Regions from separate parts of the Homo sapiens genome. Here regions 2 and 3 are each linked to region 1. Evidence: promoter capture Hi-C in 16 types of primary human blood cells and fetal thymus (Javierre and others, 2016). All regions are on one chromosome and are shown on one strand. The core of a region is centred on a gene start or on the middle of the fragment in contact, and the rest is flanking DNA. Distances in the headings are between cores, read along the strand shown. Region 1 holds the start of BLK-AS1 (BLK antisense RNA 1). Region 2 overlaps MTMR9 (myotubularin related protein 9). Region 3 overlaps FDFT1 (farnesyl-diphosphate farnesyltransferase 1).

Region 1 (3,462 bases), core at 804-3,303:
TATGCATCCTTCCATGTATCCATCCATCCATGGATCCATCCATCCATCCACCCACCCACCCACCCATCCATCCATCCACCCATTCATCCATCCATGCATGCATCCATCCATCCATCCATCCATCCATCCATCCATGCATCCATCCATCCACCCACCCACCCACCCACCCACCCACCCACGCATCCACCCATCCATGCATCCATCCATCCCCTTGCTACACCATGCAATCAATACTCATTTACTAATATGGGACTGTGGGGAATATAAAACTGAGTACTAAATATATCTGGGCAGCATCTAACAGTACTCGTTCTGATAACTAATATTTATTGAACAGTACCAGAAATATATTTTAAAAAATGTTGAGTAGGGCCCAGATCTGCTTTCAAGAAGAAGCTGCCCAGATCTGCTGAGCAAGAACAGTGCTTCCGGGAACACCTGAGCTAAGGGCTCTCTGGCAGTTTCTTGTCCAGGGAAACCTTCATAGAAATGACATTACGCTTGAGCCATGGATGATGATAAGGATTCTGCCAGGTGGGAAGTGTTCAAGGCTTCCTGGGCAGAGGAGGTAGAGGGGTGGCGAGGCATGGGGCATGGGAACCGGTGGCATCTGGCTGCAAAGTGGGGCCCGAGGGATTGTGATTGCAGGGTTCCTGTGGGGTTGGCCAGATCTGGCCTTGGAAGAAAGGTCTGGCGAGACTTTGCATGGCTTCCTATGGAGTAAGAAAAGAAGAGCCCAGAAGGGCCGGGTGTGTGTCTGCTCATGTGTGTGTAAGTTTGCGTGTTTGTGTGTGTGTTTGTGTGTGTGAGTTTGTGAGTTTGTGTAAATGTGTTTGTGTGAGTTTGTGTTTGAGTCTGAGTCTGTGTATTTGTGTGTCTGTGTGAGTTTGTGTGTGTGAGTCTGTGTGTCTGTGTGTGTGTCTGTCTGTGTGTGAGTTTGCGTGTCTGTGTGAGTCTGTGTATGTGTTTGTGTTTGTCCGTGTGTGTGTGAGTCTGTGTTTTTATGTGTGTGAGAGTGTGTGTGTGTACATGTGTGCTTAGAGAGCCATTGGCATGGTCAGCATGTGGTTAGAGGCTGCCCTTCTGGGAAGTTCTGATTTTCTGGCTCCTCACCCCCGATTCTGTGGCTACATCCAGGTATTAAACTCCGATGGCTTTTCACATCCTTTGCCCCTGGGTCACACGAGATTTCCCAAGGGGGTGTAGTGGGGATTGAATAGGAGACAGCGGAGGGTGAGAGAAGGAAGGGGAAAGGAAGCAGCAGCAGTGGGCAGGCTTATCACTGCCCTGGGGTTTGAAGCCGGTTACCAGCACTCATTTTCCAAAACCAGCCTGCCCAGATGGCTGTCTGCCCACCTCAGCGGAAAAAGGCGTTGTGGCATCAGTTCCTGCAGCGGCGCTACTGGGTAAGGCTGGGCGAGGGGCGAGGTGGGAGGGCTGATGTGGGCGGTGGGTGGGAGCGTTTCCTCTCGGTGGCAGCTGTATGTGTGTGTGTATGTGTACGCACGTGTGTGCCTCACAGGCTGACCACAGACCAAAACTTTTCTGCTGAGAGTTCCAGTTTTAACAGGGCCACCAGATGTGCTTCCTGCCAGCTAGAGCTCTCGGCTAAAACCCTCCTCTCCACTCTGCTCTTCACCCCATGGAGTCCAGAAAGTTCTGCATGTGAACGTGAGGGACACTGAGGACCAGTCCTGGGTAGCCAAGGAGGTCCAGCACTCGCAATTCCCTGGTGGCAGAAGGTGGGGCTGTCCTCCAGGGCTCAGAGAAGTCATGTCCCTGGCATCTGTGTGTAGCTCAGGCCTGCCCATCAGCCTGGGGTCGACGCCAGGGCTGTGCAAAGGCTGAGGGCCCCTGGGATGGGAAGTCCTACAGGAGATGTTTGTGGGCACCATCTAAGGAAGAGATGAGGTCACAACAGAACACACTTGCCTGCCGGGTTCAATGGAACTCTTGCTAACTCTGTGTGTTTCCCATGACATTCATTCGCCCTCTCTTCCTTCGGAACAGAATAGCCTCATTCCAACACAGCAGCCCGGGTCTAAGGCTCCATTCCCTGGGCTCCCTCACAGCTGCGTGGGGCAGGAGGCACAGTGGCCAGGGTTTGCAAGTCCAAGTGCAGTGGGTGACCTTGGGGATATCTGCCTAGAGGAAGGTGGCCTTCAGTACCCCCTGACTTCTCCTGCTGGCTGAGAGGATGGGGTGGTAAGGCACGAGCAGCCATTGTGGGCAGCAGGTGGCACATGCCGCCCTTTCTCTGCACCTGGTACTTCACCAACCTGCGCCGACATGTCAATCAGCCTTGGGAGTGACAATCTGCTCCCTTCATCTGTCTTCAGGAAATCCAGCAGGCATCCTAAGAAAAGAGAAGTTGCAAGTGCCCTTCTGCAAAGTGACCCGCCCCTGGTGGTGCCAGCCTCTCTCTGGTGTGAGTGGCTCCCCATGGGCGCGGGAAGTGGGAGTTTGCACCCTCAGATCTCTCGGTGCATCAGGAAGGATCTACCTACTGCTGCCGAGTGCCTTCCACTTTACAAAATGCCAGTCTCAGCACCCCGGGAGGCAGCCAATATACCAGCAGTTGCCCAGAAGTTAGGTTTCAGCCAGGTGCAGGGACCTGTCTGAAGTCACCCAGCCGGGAGCTGGGAGTGGGACCCCAGTTCTGACTCGAAGTTTCATGCCCCTTCTTGTCTTTCCCCCCGTGTTGGCCTCGCTCCCTTGATCCCTGCTGGCAGACACCCTCTGCCTCTGAGGACCAGGCATCAGCAAGAAAGCACCAGAATGGAGAGAACTGTCCCCCAGGTTTGGTGCAGGGGACAAATGCAGCTCCCCCTGGAATCAGAAAGCTGGGAGGGATGGATGCTTGCCCTAGGGGCAGGCTAGAGGCACCCCCAGCACAGCCTCCGACCGGGGGCCCCTTGGTGACAGTTGTTAGGGAGCTATATCAACATGGGCATGTTAGGATCCTATAGGAGCAGTGTGCGGTCAGGGTCATAGGAGGGTGAGAAAGTGGCATGAGAACTTGGCCACGCCGTGGACCTCAGAGGCCATCAAGCCCAACCTCTCTGGCCATCCTTGTAAAATATTCACACAGTTGTAAATGGTTGCATGACCAGGAGGCAGGAGACCTGGATCTAGTACTGTCCCTGCATGCCTGGCCTGGTGTTCGTCTGACTTTGCAATGCTCTGTCCCTCCCAGCAGGCATCAAAGAGTGCTAGGCACAGAAGATGCACTCCAGAAATGCTGTCTGAACTGCTCCTGGGCTGAGAACATGGCTCTGTCAGAACCACTTCACCCTCCTGTTTCTCACCCTCCCTCTGTCCCTCCCCCTCCCTCCATCCCTCCCTGTCCCCACACCGTGCCATGCCCTAGATCTGCAGGACCCCCTGGCCTGGTGAACCCACCGCAGCGGACCCTCCTCCTCCTGCTAAGCCCGGCCCTCCCGCCTCGCTCTGAGGATGCGG
Region 2 (3,325 bases), core at 337-2,836, 260 kb after region 1:
CTTAGCACTATAACAGTTTTTCCTCTATTTCTCTATTCCTGTTTTAAAAATCACTAAAATCCTACTTCTAGATTTTTAAGACTTTCTACCCATTTTTAATAGCTAAGCTGATAGCATTTTTTGGACACAAAGTCCAGATTAGTTACACATACACGGAAAGAAAAAATCAACGTTCCTATAGTAGTCTAGAAAGTACTATAAACCTAAGATTAACTGATATAATTTAGTGGCAATAGTTTAAAATAAGGCAATTTAAAATTTCAGTGTACATCAAAATAGTTGGTTAGAATGGAAAGAAAACAGTATGAGCTCTTCCATTTAAACTAACCAAGTAAAATTTCTATTATTTGTAATCTGAACCAATATTCAATATTATTTATATAAATAAAAAGCAAACACACCCTGTCTTAAGCTAATTGATACGTGAAAATTCAGATTACTAAAAACAAACAAAAAACTATAATCACTGGTGACAGTTACTTGCTTTAGAAAAGAAATAACTTTTTAAAAGTCTCACCACATGCATCCATAACAATGGAATATTACTCAGCCTTAAAAAGTCAGAATTTACAACACAGATGAACTGTGAGGATATTATGCTAAGTGAAAAAAACCAGTCACAAAAAGACAAATACTATGTACTATGATTCTACTTATATGAGATACCTAAAGTAGTCAAATTCAGAGAAACAGAAAGTAGAATGGGGGTTCTCAGGAGCTGGAGAGAGGGGAAAATGGGGTGTTGTTTAACACAGAGTTTCGATCTTGCAAGATGAAAAAGTCCTGGAGATCTGCTGCACAACAATGTGAATAAAGTTTTATACCCTACTAAACTGTACACTTAAAAACGGTTAAGTGTTTTCTAACCACAATTTTTTTAAAAAAGCATCACCATAAAATTATAGTAAGTAATGACAGAGGACCCTCAAATGGTAGCTGCTATTTACCAAGTATTATACTAACCATTCTACACACATCAACTAATAAAATTCTTACAACAGCCCTAAAAGATAGGTACTATTATCCTTGTTTTATAAAACGTAGAAAACAAATCAGAGAGATGTTAAGTACTTTACCAATGGTCACAAGCTAGCATGTGGTAAAATCAAGAATCAAACTGTGCTATCGTTCAATAATGTACTAATACATGTAATAATGTGTATATATATATGTAATAATATGGTACAATAATATTCTAATTTATTAATATTTCTATTCAAATTTTTAGAACTGTATTTATTACAAAAGATATACTAGTATATTCAAGAAGAAACAATTCCACTTCTAGCTGCTAACCTGGTAGAGAAGTGAACAGTGCACTGGTTAACTCACTAGTGGTTTGCAGTGTCTCTAAGGAACTCTGTAGAGGGCAGATGGGAATAGTCAAGTCAATGAGGGCTTCTAGGTCCCCCCAGTCCCTACCTACTCACTGTAATGTGACTAAAAGCAATTCTAACTGTATCTATTTTATTGGTTTACAATTCCATATAAGATTTTACTTGAACAAACCTCAAGTAAAGGAAAGAAAAAGAAGTTTACAGTCTTTGGCACAGAGCTTTGTATAGTGAACATAAAATATCAAGCAAAACTTTAAAATTTCTCCCAAGAACCTCTTTACTAAATCTTCTAATGGTTTCCCCAAATAAGAACTCATACACTCAAGTGAAACAGTATCTGTTATTTAACCAATATGAACTCATGGAAATTCCACAAAGCCATTGGAAATGGAATTCCAAGCAACTCATGGAATTGAGCTACTCATATAACGTGAGTAACACCAGACACTGCTGGAAGTCAAGAAAGTTCCATTACACTCATATGACGATGAACCAGGGTGAGGCTTTTCCTATCAGTCTTCAGTATTTGAGTCAGAGAACATGACTAAATTATCTAATGAAGAAATGGAAGAGCTACACTGAGTCATAATATAAAATTATGTTTCATTAGATTTTGCTTCCAAAATACTTACCTCAATGGAACTGGCTATATTCAAGCATTCCTCCATTCCAGGAATATCCAACTGAATAATTCGAAAATCTTTACATTTTATGATGATGGTACCCAGTGATCCTACAAATCTGTAAGAAATTGCAAATCATGTTTAGGAACACATATATTACTAACTTTAAATATATTATTATTTCTTTGAAAAGAGAATATAGTTGTAGTTACCATCTATATTAACTTTCTTCTCCTCAGTCTAATTAAGGAAGAAGCAAGGCTGCATCATTAAAATGTGAGCCATACATTACTTACAATATATGTCTTTTTTAAATTTCAAATATATAAAGTAATTCACATTAAGCTAACTGTTCTGATGGAGATTATTTGGGGCCTTATTTCAAAGAATAGGAAAAAGATCTGTAACTAATGTGTTAAGTGTTTGTAGAGAGATATTTCTGGAGCATAGGAAAACAGTTCACTTCAGATTTCCCTTACTTCCAAGTGATACATATTATGTATCAATTTATAAAAAGCAAAAGGGCCGGGTGCCGTGGCTCACGTCTGTAATCCCAGCACTTCAGGAAGCCAAGGCGGGTGGATCACGAGGTCAGGAGATCAAGACCATCCTGGCTAACACAGTGAAATTCTGTCTCTGCTAAAAATACAAAAAATTAGCTGGGCGTGGTGGCATGCAGCTACTCAGGAGGCTCAGGCAAGAGAATCGCTTGAACCCGGGAGGCAGAGGTTGCAGTGAGCCGAGTCTGAGCCACTGCACTCCAGCCTAGGTGACAGAGTTGAGACTCTGTCTCAAAAAAAAAAAAAAAAAAGTGAAAGTATTTGACAAAATCTAACATCCATTTCTGATTTAAAAACATGAAAAACCAAAAATTTCTCAGCAAATTTGAAACAGAAGGGAACTTCCTCAACCTGATAAGGGCATTTACAAAAAACCCCACAAAAAAACCCCTAAATCTAATAGCACACTTAACGGTGAAGGATTGAATTATTTCTCTCTAAAATCATGAATAACACAAAGATGTTCACTGTCACCACTTCTAGTCAACATTGCACTCAAGGTTATAACTAGTGCAGTAAGGTAAAAAGAATAAAAAAGGATTAAAAAAGAAGTAAAACTACCTTTATTTGCAGATGACGATTGTGTAAATGTACCCAGAATTTTCTTTTTATTGTCAATTATTCCCCAAATTCATCCAGTGATACAACATAATTCCAAACAAAATCACAGCAGACTTTAATGTAGAAACTGAAAAGGTGATTCTAAAATTCATATGGAAATGCAAATGTCTTCAAATAGCCAAAACAACTTTGAATAAGAACAAAGTGGTATGGCTAACACTACACAATTTCAAGGCTTACTATA
Region 3 (3,722 bases), core at 1,070-3,569, 260 kb before region 1:
GTCTTTACTTCCACAGAAGTGATGAGTAAGTCTCACAAACACCATTCCTATGAAAAATAGGCAAGACTCCTAACCCTACCTTATGTTTTGATGTGTAGTTTTAATCTTCATGGTCAATTACATCCCTTTGTCTAGATAAGCACTTCTCTCCAGTACCCTACTCCTAGCCTGGCTGATATCCTACATAGCTGCTGGTTTGGAATTAACTCTGGAATAAACTGTTTATGATGAGACATTCAACCTAAACAGATGAATTGTAAAACCAGAGGGGCTGAAAATACTGGACAACTTTTCTTGTTCTGAGCTTCACTATGAGGACTGCCAGCTCTGTCTAATACATCACACACAGACACTGTTTTATGAGACTAACCTTGTCCCACTCCTGTTCAGAGGTCACATGCTTATCCAAAAACTCTGCCATCCCAATGCCCATTCTCCGGCAAATGTCGGCAATCACTGTTTGGTATTTCTCAGCCAGATTTCTAAACTCAAGGGAGATCTGAAATGGAAACCGTAAAAACACAGAAATCATGAAATATGTACAGACATGGCACCAAAGATCACAAGGCAAACAATGGCGGAATTAATCATGACTGCAATGGTTCATCTATAAGCCTAATTTAGGTCACACATTTTTTTTGTTTTTGTTTTTGTTTTTGAGATGGAGTCTCGCAATGTTGCCCAGGCTGGAGTGCAATGGCACGATCTCAGCTCACTGCAAACTCCGCCTCCCAGGTTCAAATGATTCTCCTGCCTCAGCCTCTCCAGGAGCTGGCATTACAGGCATGCACCACCACGCCCAGCTAATTTTTATATTTTTAGTAGAAGTGGGGTTTCACCATGTTGGCCAAGCTGGTCTCAAATTCCTGACCTCATGATCCACTAGCCCTGGCCTCCCAAACTGCTGGGATTACAGGCATAAGCCACTGAGCCCGGCCTCATGTTTCTTATTATTTCATAAATTTCATAAATATTAAAATAGAATGGTCTAAAAATGCTAATGTTTCTAGATTCAAAAGAAGATTCAAAGTCTCACTACACATTTCATCTTTCCAATGTATAATGAGATGCTTCAACATAAAGCTGGGTTTAAGTTTTTGGGAGAACAGCTTGTTTAGAGAAACCTCATTATGAGAAAGATTCATTTGTGCAAACATGGATCAAGCACTTCCTATGTAACAAGTATCATTCTAGGCACTGGGGATATACATCAGGGCAACAAACAGAAACTCAGACCCAGAGTTGCTTCCAAGATGTCCCAGTAGGAACAGCTCTGGTCTACAGCTCCCAGCAAGATCGATGCAGAAGATGGGTGATTTCTGCATTTCCAACTGAGGTACCTGGTTCATCTCACTGGCACTGGTTGGACAGTGGGTGCAGCCCATGGAGGGTGAGCCAAAGCAGGGCAGGACGTCACCTCATCCAGGAAGTGCAAGGGGTCAGGGGATTTCCCTTTCCTAGCCAAGGAAAGGCGTGAGTGACTGTACCTGGAGGAACAGTATACTCTGCCCAAATACTGTGCTTTTCCCAGTCTTCGCAACTGGCAGAGCAGGTGATTGCCTCCAGTGCCTGGCTCGGGGGGTCCCATGCCCATGGAACCTTGCTTGCTGCTAGCCAAGCAGTCTGAGATCAAGCTGGGATGCTGGAGCTTGGTGAGGGGAAGCGCCTCCCCGCCATTGCTGAGGCTTCAGTACGCACTTCTATGCTCACAGTGTAAACAAAGCAGCAAGGAAGCTTGAACTGGGTGGAGCCCACCGCAGCTCAGCAAGGCCTACTGCCTCTCTAGATTGCATCTCTGGGGGCAGGGCATATCTAAACAAAAGGCAGCAGACGGCTTCTGCAGATTTAAACATCCCTGCCTGACAGCTCTGAAGAGAGCAGTGGTTCTCCCAGCTCGGCATTTGAACTCCAGTAACGGACAGACTGCCTCCTCAAGTGGGTCCCTGAGCCCCATGTAGCCTGACTGGGAGGAGACACCTCCCAGTAGGGGCCGACAGACACCTCATATAGGTGGGTGTCCTTCTTGGACGAAGCTTCCAGAGGAAGGATCAGGCCGCGATATTTGCTGTTCTGCAGCCTCCACTGGTGATACCCAGGTAAACAGGGTCTAGAGTGGACCTCCAGCAACTCCAACAGACCTGCAGCTGACGGGCCTCTGTTAGAAGGAAAACTAACAAACAAAGGAATAGGATCAATATCAACAAAAAGGACACCCACACCAAAACCCATCTGTACGTCACCAAAATCAAAGACCAAAGGTAGATAAAACCACAAAGATGGGGAGAAACCACAGCAGAAAGGCTGAAAATTCCAAAAACAGAACGCCTCTTCTCCTCCAAAGGAACGTAACTCCTCACCAGCAAAGGAACAAAACTGGATGGACAATGAGTTTAACGAGTTGACAGAAGTAGGCTTCAGAAGGTTGGTAATAACAAACTTCTCCAAGCTAAAGCAGCACGTTCTGACCGATCGCAAGGAAACTTAAAACCTTGAGAAAAGGTTGGACAAATGGCTAACTAGAATAACCAGTGTAGAGAAGAGCTTAAATGACCTGATGGAGCTGAAAACCAAAGTACAAGAATTTCACAAAGCATAAACAAGCTTCAATAGCCGATTCGATCAAGCAGAAGAAAGGATATCAGTGATCGAAGATCAAATTAATGAAATAAAGCAAGAAGACAAGATTAGAGAAAAAAGAATGAAAAGAAATGAACAAAGGCTTCAATAAATATGCGACTATGTGAAAAGACCAATGCTATGATTGTTGTACCTGAAAGTGATAGACAGAATGGAACCAAGTTACAAAACACTCTTCAGTATATTATCCAGGAGAACTTCCCCAACCTAGCAAGGCAGGTCAACATTCAAATTCAGGAAATACAGAGAACACCACAAAGATATTCCTCGAGAAGCGCAATCCCAAGATACGTAATTGTCAGATTCACCAACGTTGAAATGAAGGAAAAAATGTTAAGGGCTGCCAGAGAGAAAGGTCGGGTTACCCACAAAGGGAAGCCCATCAGACTAACAGCAGATCTCTCAGCAGAAACCCTACTAGCCAGAAGAGAGTGGGGGCCAATATTCAGCATTCTTAAAGAATTTTCAACCCAGAATCTCATAACCAGCCAAACTAAGTTTCACAAGTGAAGGAGAAATAAAATCCTTTACAGACAAGCAAATGCTCAGAGATTTTGTCACCACCAGGCCTGCCCTAAAAGAGCTCCTGAAGGAAGCAGTAAAAATGGAAAGGAACAACTGGTACCAGCCACTGCAAAAACATGCCAAATTGTAAAGACCATCGAGGCTAGGAAGAAACTGCATCAATTAATGGGCAAAATAACCAGCAAACATCATAATGACAGATCAAATTCAAACATAACAATATTAACCTTAAATATAAGTGGGCTAAATGCCCCAGTTAAAAGACGCAGACTGGCAAATTGGATAAACAGTCAAGGCCCGTCACTGTGCTGTATTCAGGAGACCCGTCTCACGTGCAGAGATGCACATAGGCTCAAAATAAACAGCTGGAGGAAGATCTACCAAGCGAAAAAAAAAAGCAGGGAATGCAATCCTAGTCTCTAATAAAACAGACTTTAAACCAACTAAGATCAAAAGAGACAAAGAAGGCCACTACATAATGGTAAAGGGATCAATTCAACAAGAAGAGCTAACTATCTTAAACATATATGTACCCAATACAGGAGCACCCAGATTCATAA

Evidence for each region. Contacts are between HindIII fragments. The CHiCAGO score rates a contact against its expected background, and 5 or more counts as called.
Region 2: a fragment that was not itself captured here is called in contact with the fragment with the promoter of BLK-AS1 in region 1 in 2 of 17 cell types (fetal thymus and total B cells); the score reaches 5.4 in fetal thymus.
Region 3: a fragment that was not itself captured here is called in contact with the fragment with the promoter of BLK-AS1 in region 1 in 1 of 17 cell types (total B cells); the score reaches 5.8 in total B cells.

Annotation. Positions count from the first base shown.
Region 1 is chr8:11,556,856-11,560,317 of GRCh38, reverse strand. It overlaps BLK-AS1 (BLK antisense RNA 1), which reads left to right and starts at 2,053. Exons shown (of 5, transcript XR_948956.3): 1 at 2,053-2,428. BLK (BLK proto-oncogene, Src family tyrosine kinase) reads right to left here. Exons shown (of 13, transcript NM_001715.3): 10 at 2,280-2,356. RefSeq lists an enhancer at 1,594-1,883. The HindIII fragment of the contact is 8,296 bases long and covers 1-3,462 here.
Region 2 is chr8:11,293,947-11,297,271 of GRCh38, reverse strand. MTMR9 (myotubularin related protein 9) reads right to left here. Exons shown (of 10, transcript NM_015458.4): 2 at 1,970-2,078. Among named protein-coding and RNA genes, the nearest start is that of MTMR9, 11 kb to the right of the region's middle. The HindIII fragment of the contact is 4,846 bases long and covers 1-3,325 here.
Region 3 is chr8:11,818,527-11,822,248 of GRCh38, reverse strand. FDFT1 (farnesyl-diphosphate farnesyltransferase 1) reads right to left here. Exons shown (of 8, transcript NM_004462.5): 4 at 371-499. Among named protein-coding and RNA genes, the nearest start is that of FDFT1, 18 kb to the right of the region's middle. RefSeq lists enhancers at 1,563-1,612, 1,623-1,672. The HindIII fragment of the contact is 568 bases long and covers 2,036-2,603 here.